3 separate regions of the Homo sapiens genome follow, and regions 1 and 3 are each linked to region 2. Evidence: promoter capture Hi-C in human tissues and cell types (Jung and others, 2019). All regions are on one chromosome and are shown on one strand. Each heading gives the region's core, a stretch centred on a gene start or on the middle of the fragment in contact. The rest is flanking DNA. Distances are from core to core; before and after follow the strand shown. Region 1 has its middle 5.6 kb from the start of KRTAP4-8. Region 2 holds the start of KRTAP9-4 (keratin associated protein 9-4). Region 3 overlaps LOC124904002 (a long non-coding RNA gene).

What was found. Contacts are between HindIII fragments. The study calls those that stand out against the background at their distance.
Region 1: a fragment that was not itself captured here is called in contact with the fragment with the promoter of KRTAP9-4 in region 2 in 3 of the 25 tissues and cell types used here (IMR-90 fibroblasts, mesenchymal stem cells and spleen).
Region 3: a fragment that was not itself captured here is called in contact with the fragment with the promoter of KRTAP9-4 in region 2 in 4 of the 25 tissues and cell types used here (H1 embryonic stem cells, adrenal gland, dorsolateral prefrontal cortex and 1 more).

What each region holds. Positions count from the first base shown.
Region 1 is chr17:41,091,205-41,093,904 of GRCh38, reverse strand. No RefSeq gene overlaps it. Among named protein-coding and RNA genes, the nearest start is that of KRTAP4-8, 5.6 kb to the left of the region's middle. The HindIII fragment of the contact is 6,382 bases long and covers 1-2,700 here.
Region 2 is chr17:41,248,425-41,251,124 of GRCh38, reverse strand. KRTAP9-4 (keratin associated protein 9-4) reads right to left here and starts at 1,438. Exons shown (of 1, transcript NM_033191.3): 1 at 472-1,438. The coding sequence starts at 1,404. The coding sequence ends at 940. RefSeq lists an enhancer at 1,157-1,711. The HindIII fragment of the contact is 7,447 bases long and covers 1-2,700 here.
Region 3 is chr17:41,111,384-41,114,083 of GRCh38, reverse strand. It overlaps LOC124904002 (a long non-coding RNA gene), which reads right to left. Exons shown (of 2, transcript XR_007065754.1): 2 at 1,414-2,700. Among named protein-coding and RNA genes, the nearest start is that of KRTAP4-11, 5.6 kb to the left of the region's middle. The HindIII fragment of the contact is 6,500 bases long and covers 1-2,700 here.

The DNA.
Region 1 (2,700 bases), core at 185-2,684, 160 kb after region 2:
TCCCTCTGCAGTCAAGCTGCTTCTCTCTGATGTCCGGCTGTAGTCCCCAACATCCAGCTGCTTCTTGCCTCTGCCAGCTCAGTCTGAGATCTTCACAGGCACAGGATGGGACAGGATGGGGCCATGAGTGGTTTAGAAAAAGGCAACTTTCAAGCAGGAAAACAGGGATATAAGTTGTCACTTTGGGCCATGGTTTAAGGCTTTTCAGCTTGAAGGTGGGGTTTTGTCAGAGACCTATCCTTTTCTGCCTAGAATTTCTCTGTCCCCTGGCCCTATCAGAACTTTGTTCCATAGAAGGAATTTCGGATAAGACTTTTGGAAAGCTTAGCCTAGCCATGGATTTGTACCATCAAATACCTATGAGTTGGGTGAATTCCTCTCCTCTTGAGGTTCCAAGATAAACTTGGGGCTCCTGGAACTGTTAGAAAGTGACATGCTTTACTTACCACAGGTCAGGAACCCTGTACAGGGACTGTGTAGATAAGGTATGAGGCCAGTTCTCCCAAGGGGCTTTTATTGGCTCCATAAGTCAAGTTTGATTCCTCAAAGAAGAGCACACCATTCAAGTAAAAGCCTTGGTAAAATGACCAATTTATCGTGTCCTGTTACAAATGAAAACAGATTCTTATTGCACTTACGCAAATAACTGTATTGCCATAAGTTAAGAATACTCACAGATAGTTTCCAATTCTAGGGAAAATCAGGTAGAGAGAAACAAATATGCTCCAAATATTTTTCACAGGAGTATACTAACTTGTTAAAAGCTGACAACAGCTCAAAAGAAAAGTTTCCTTGACTGAAAAAAACAAAATAAAGGGTCAGCAATGTTTTAAGCAAAAAGTCAAAAAGATTACTTCAGTCTTCTGTTAGTTCAGTTCATGCAGTTAATTCCTGTTCTGCTTGCTATTCATGAACATTTCAGGTCTCCATGAGTCCTGAAAGCTTTTCCTTCATTGTGATGTCACAATCTCCAGAGTTATTAGAAACCTGCATTCAAGAATACCTGTTAGAGTTTTATAGCTGATTATAAAACCATCTTCTAAAGAGGACTAAAACAAGACAAAAATTGTCCATGGGTGACAAAAAGTTTTAGGTCAGCCATAGGCGAAGATACAATTGACAAGAAAATTTGTTACCACCATGGCACACAATAATTTAATATAACAATCATAATTATTACTGATAATGTACACCAGGTCATATCAGAATTATAGGAGTTTCCCATAATTTTGGTGCACATACCAATAACAATTTTATACAAATACAGCCCAAATAAAACCAAACACCATTTTATATTTGACAATGCTTCCTGTATAATTTTTATACCAAATAAGTCAAATTATTTCATTTTTGGACTTGAGGGAAACTAATATCTTAAAGGATTAATTAGGTCAGAAAAATACACAACTTGTAATTTGATTTTGGAAAGTTTGTCAAATATCAAAGGTTTAAAACACTTGATATGACAGGTCATCATAAAATAAGTCAATTTTTCAAACAATAAGCCCAAATAAAACAGCATAAAGCCAATTAAATTTGTTTTTCAAAATTTTTTAAACAATCTATAACATTTTAATCTTGACCATAAGATACAACTTTCATAAGCCTTTTATAACCTTTATAACCTTTATTAAGGGGTCAGTTAACACTTCAAGAAAACCTTGTTAATCTGACACAGGGGCCCATATGCTGGTATTGCATCAGTGTGCCTTTGACATCAATTATTAACTTGTATAGAGACTGAACTTATTTTATCTCTCAAAATCAGCCCTTATAATCTCACATGCCTACCTCTTCTGTGATTGTTCCTGAGTCTTGAAGAGTTGAATAGCTTTGATTTATGGCCTTATGTCTCAGAAATGCAGCTTATTTTGATAGGCATCTTCTACCAGGCCTGAAGATGAGGTTTTAATTGCTGTCAGTGTTTAAGATTTAGCAGATCTTGGTCTCCTTTTTAGATCCAGGAGTTAAAGGCCGGTAACTCAATGTCACAGGTACTTTCAAAGTGCACACAGAAATATACATGGATGTAATAACGTTAATTTTTTAAAAAAATTGTCTCAGTTTCTTTTTCCTAAGCAAACCAAAAATTAATAATAATGGCATAGGAATTGTTTCAATAAGCCATAAAATCTGTTAGGTCAATTACCAAAAGGCAAAAGAAAAGACCTTCTACACTGCACAGAGTATTACTTTGGAAGAAAACATTTCCTTTAGACTTTTAGAAAACATTGTTAGCATCAGGCCACAACAAACAGAACTTAAGGAAAATAACTTATATGAGCTGAAAACAAGTTGAAGGGGAGAGAAAACAGCAAGTAAATAGTTGAACTTTGGGTTAAAAAATTAAAATCTCTTATAATTTATTAAGAGTAAATCAATCCCTTAAGAAAATTTCATCGCTGTAACTAATTATTTAGTCTATAAGTGTTTTTTTTAGCATGAAGCCCAATCTTCAGGAAGACCATTATAATTTCCCTTTAATTATAGACAACTCAATCATATAAAAGTTTTTTGGTATTTTTTTAAAATAAATCCTCTTATGACTTATAGAGACTGTTCATGATATGCTTGGACTATCTAGTTTGTTTTGAACATCCATCTTTCTTAAACAATCAGTCATTTTATTTTAGGTCTAAATTTACCATACAAGATTCTTTCTCATATGAAATTATTTCTCTTTAAGCTTTCTTACCAGCA
Region 2 (2,700 bases), core at 189-2,688:
AATGAGTGGCTGGTCAGAGGCTGAGACAAAAAGAGCTCCCTGCATTCAGGGCAGCCATTAAATGCAGTCCCTGCTGCCATATCACGCAGCTGTTTCTCACTGAGGTGTGGGAAATTGGGAATTTTTTGTAAACAAAAACGTTATCTGCAAATATAAGAGATTATTTGTCCTATTGTTAAAAAAACTCAAGTATATGACTTGCTAATACTTACTTCCAATGTCATTTCTACTATATTGAGAGTTAAATGTAAGTGTCCTTGGGCAGAAAGAGAGGACCTCAGCTTGGACAAGAGTCTGCCCTTTACTAGCTACATAACATCACACATTAAATTGTTCTCAGCTGAAAAAATGGAGGTAATAACACACGACCATCTGTTTTGAGAATCAAATTGGATAATACCTATGGTATGTGATATGTGTGTAAATCTCATATCAGGAATGCTTTCATATAAAACAAAACACCATATGAGATGAGGATGGTTCAGAGTTTATTCAGAAACATATAGCTAAGAATCTCTGCTGGTAGCAGAAACATAACCCAAAGTTATGAAAAGAAGAAAGAAGGATACAAGAACCATGAGGAGGATATTGAAAACAAAAATATGATTGCAAAGATTATTGATCAGTTGCAGAAACCTAAATTCCTTAGAAGCAGAGAATGAAGCTCTTGACTTTTGAGTCAAAGCTGAGACCATGACTCAAAATTGAGAACACACGAAGCTGGCACATGATCCACAAAGTGTAAGGAAAAAGAGAATCAGGATGAAGTATTCTGCCCTCCCTCAAGTAGATTCCCAAGATTTTAAACAGGTAGAGAATTCATAAAAATTTGGGTGAGAGCATGGTGGCTGTCAGCAGCAAATTAAATTAGTCCCCCAAAAGATAAGTCAGTTGAGCAGAAAGTTGTTGTGTGAGGATGGTGGTTCTCTTGGGACTTGATCAGCAGCAAAAAGGCTGACAGCAGCTGGACACACAGGTGGGCTGGAAGCAAGTGGTCTCACAGCAGGCTGGGCGGCAGCAGGGCTGGCAGCAGTTGGAGCCACAGCTCTGGTTTAGGCAACCAGGCAGGCAGACAGTTGTGGGGTAGTAGCAGGTTCTTCTGCAGTACACAGGTGCACAGGAGCTGCTCTGGTCACAGCTGGACCCACAGCAGGTGGGCTGGCAGCAGGGTGTGCTGCAGCAGGAAGGCTGGCAGCAGCTGGTCACACAGGTGGGCTGGCAGCAGGTGTTTTGACAGCAAGTTGGGCGGCAGCAAGGCTGGCAGCAGCTGGAAACACAGCAGGAGGGCTGGCAGCAGGGTGTGCTGCTGCAGGTGGTCACAGTGGTGGGCTTCCAGCAGGTGGTCCTGCAGCAGGTGGTCCTGCAGCATGTAGGCTGACAGCAAGGGGAGCAACAGTGGGTCATGGTGTCAGGGGTAGAGGGTGGGCTTCTGTTCAGAGGTGAGTTTCCCAGAATCTGATGACCCCTTGCAATCTGGACCTTTTATACACCTGGCCTCCAAAGTTTCCACCAATCAGCAGGACTTTTCCTTGTTTCCGTTTACATTGTTTTCCCAGTCCGTTTGTGATTCTCAAAGGGTAGTTGTTTCCTTAAGGTTAAACAGATTAAGGTTTAATCTGTTTCTTAATTGTGAATTACTCATAGACACTTTGTTTCAGATAAAAGGAAGGCAATCTCATCATCAGCATCATTCCTGTTCTGACCATCATCTGGTCATGTGATAGTTCCTGTTGATCTGGGAGGCTCAGGAAGTTCTCTCTGGCCAGCCTCATGTTTGGCTGTATGTAGACTGGGAAGTGTCTGTGGGGAGAAGCATGATGCTGATATATTTACAGTGACAAAATGAATCCATGCCTGGGCCCAAGACTAGTCACCCACCAAATTCTGACTCAAGACTAGCAGGCATCTCTCTGTGCAACCCACACCACCTGTCTTTCAGTTCTTTGAACATCACTTGGGAAGAGGGTGTTTGTCACAGTGTGTTCCATGTGGCAGAGCAGATCGAGAGCAGGTGGATGCAGATAAATCCACTGGGATTTAGACAGCATCAAGTAATCTATGCCCTGAGTGACCATTCATTCTGACTTGTCTGTGAGCGTGGCGATTCCAGAATGAGAATGTAGGACTCTCTATGGCATAAATGCTTGAGATTCAGGCCAACCAGCATGTGCTGTGGCTCTAGTCGCAACCCGGTTACTAGCACAGTAAGCAGCATGTCTTCTCTCTCTCTCTCTATTTCTTTTTAATGAAGGAATTAGATGAGTTGAGATGATGCCTGATTCATCATGGAGTTCTAACATGTTTAAAACATTTTCTAGGTATACCATTCATTTGAGAAGAATGCAAATTATTAATTTTCAACTTGATATAGTATTATATTGTAAATACATCTGTGTCCCCATTACATCTATGTTAGGAAATAGAAATTAATTCCATTCTCTCCCAATTATATGCTCTTACTCATTCCCAAAGACAGCTAATCACTCTATCAGTTGTAATCCTGTAGGTAATTTTTGGTTTTTTAAAGTTTTCATGTGAATAAAAAGTATAGTATTTGCTTCTCTATTTCTTTGGCATAAACAAAAGTAATCTTTATCGCCTAGTCATTTTGGACTCTTCATATAAGCAAAGCAGCAGACAGAGAAAGTAGTTACTATTTGGTGAGGGATAATTACCCTCAAGCCATATAGTGTAGCAGAA
Region 3 (2,700 bases), core at 131-2,630, 140 kb after region 2:
TGGAGCCATGAGTGGTTTAGAAAAAGGCAACTTTCAAGCAGGAAAACAGGGATATAAGTTCTCACTTTGGGCCGTGGTTTAAGGCTTTTCAGCTTGAAGGTGGGGTTTTGTCAGAGACCTACCCTTTTCTGCCTAGAATTTCTCAGCCCCCTGTCCCTATCAGAACTTTGTTCCATAGAAGGAATTTCGGATAAGACTTTTGGAAAGCTTAGCCTAGCCATGGATTTGTACCATCAAATACCTATGAGTTGCATGAATTCCTCTGCTCTTGAGGTTCCAAGATAAACTTGGGGCTCCTGGAACTGTTAGAAAGTGACATGCTTTACTTACCACAGGTCAGGAACCCTGTACAGGGACTGTGTAGATAAGGTATGAGGCCAGTTCTCCCAAGGGGCTTTTATTGGCTCCATAAGTCAAATTTGATTCCTTAAAGGAGAGCACACCATTCCAGTCAAAGCCTTGGTAAAATGACCAATTTCTCCAATTGTGTCTTGTTACACATGAAAACAGATTATTATTGCACTTATGCAAATAACTGTATTGCCATAAGTTAAGAATACTCACAGATAGTTTCCAATTCTGGGGAAAATCAGGTAGAGAGAAACAAATATGCTCCAAATATTTTTCACAGGAGTATACTAACTTGTTAAAAGCTGACAACAGCTCAAATAAAAGTTTCCTTGACTAAAAAAAGGAAAACAAGGAGCAGCAACATTTTAAGCAAAAAGTCAAAAAGATTACGTTGCTCTTCTATTAGTTCAGTTCATGCAGTTAATTCCTGTTCTGCTTGCTATTCATGAACATTTCAGGTCTCCATGAGTTCTGAAAGCTTTTCCTCCATTCTGATGTCACAGTCTCCAAAGTTATTAGAAACTTGCCTTCAAGAACACGTGTTAGAGTTTTATAGCTGATTATAAAACCATCTTCTAAAAAGGACTAAAACAAAACAATTGTCCATGGGTGACAAAAAGTTTTAGGTCAGCCATAATCAAAGACACAATTGACAAGAAAATTTGTTACCACTGTGGCACACGATAATTTTATATAACAATTATAATTATTAGTGATATTGTACACCATGTCATATCAGAATTATAGGAGTTTCCCATAATTTTGGTGCACATACCAATAACATTTTTATACAAATACAGCCCAAAGAAAACCAAACACCATTTTATATTTGACAATGCTTCCTGTATAATTTTTATACCAAATAAGTCATTTATTTCATTTTTGGACTTTAGGGAAACTAATATCTTAGAGGATTAATTAGGTCAGAAAAATACACAACTTGTAATTTGATTCTGGAAACTTTGCCAAATATCAAAAGTTTAAAATACTTGATAGGTCATCATAAAATAAGTCAATTTTTCAAACATTAAGCCCAAATAAAACAGCATAAAGCCAATTAAATTTGTTTTTTGAAATTTTATTATCAATCTTTAAAATTTTAATCTTGACCATAAGATACAGCTTCCATAAGCCTTTTTTAACCTTTATAACCTTTATTAAGGGGTCGGTTAACACTTCAAGAAAACCTTTTTAATCTGACGCAGGGGCCCGTATGCTGGTATTGCATCAGTGTGCCTTTGACATCAATTATTAACTTGCAGAGAAACTGAACTTATTTTGTCTCTCAAAATCAGCCCTTACAATCTCACATGCCTACCTCTTCTGTGGTAGTTCCTGAGCCTTGAGGAGTTGAATAGCTTTTACTTCTGGCCTTATGTCTCAGGAATGCAGTTTATTTTGATTGGCATCTTCTACCAGGCCTGAAGATGAGGTTTTAATTGCTGTCAGTGCTTAAGATTTAGCAGACCTTGGTGTCCTTTTTAGACCCAGGAGTCAAAGGCCTGTAACTTAATGTCACAGGTACTTTCAAAGCACCTACAGAAATATACATGGATGTAATAACCTTAATTTTAAAAAATTATCTCAGATACTTTTTCCTGAGCAAATCAAAAATTAATAATAACAGCATAGCATTGTTTCAATAAGCCATAAAATCTGTTAGGTCAATTACCCAAAGGCAAAAGAAAAGACCTTCTACACTGCACAGAATATTACTTTGGAAGAAAACATTTTCTTTAGACTTTTAGAAAACATTGTTAGCATCAGACCATAACAAATAGAATTTAAGGAAAATAACTTATATGAGCTGCAAACGAGTTGAAGGGGAGAGAAAACAGCGAGTAAACAGTTGAACTTTGGGTTAAAAAAATTAAAATCTCTTATAATTTAATAAGAGTAAATCAATCCCTTAAGAAAATTTCATCGCTCTAACTATTTTGTTTATCATTGCTTTTTTTTTTTTACATGAAGCCCAATCTTCAGGAAGACTATTATAATTTCCTTTTAATTACAGACAACTTGACCATATAAAAGTTTGTTGGTTTTTTTTTTAATCCTCTTATTATGACTTTTACAGACTGTTCATGATATGCTTGGACTTTCTGGTTTGTTTTGAACATCCATCTTTCTTAAACAATCATTTTATTTTAGGTCTAAATTTACCATACAAGATCTTTTCTCATATGAAATTATTTCTCTTTAAGCTTCCTTACCAAAAAGAACCCTCTTTATCCTCTTTATTTTTATACCTTTCTTTACATCTCTCTGATTTCCTGGTTCCTTTTAACTTGTCTTATACATAATCTTTAAATAAGCATTGAATTAGATGACAATTGTTCACCTTTTTAA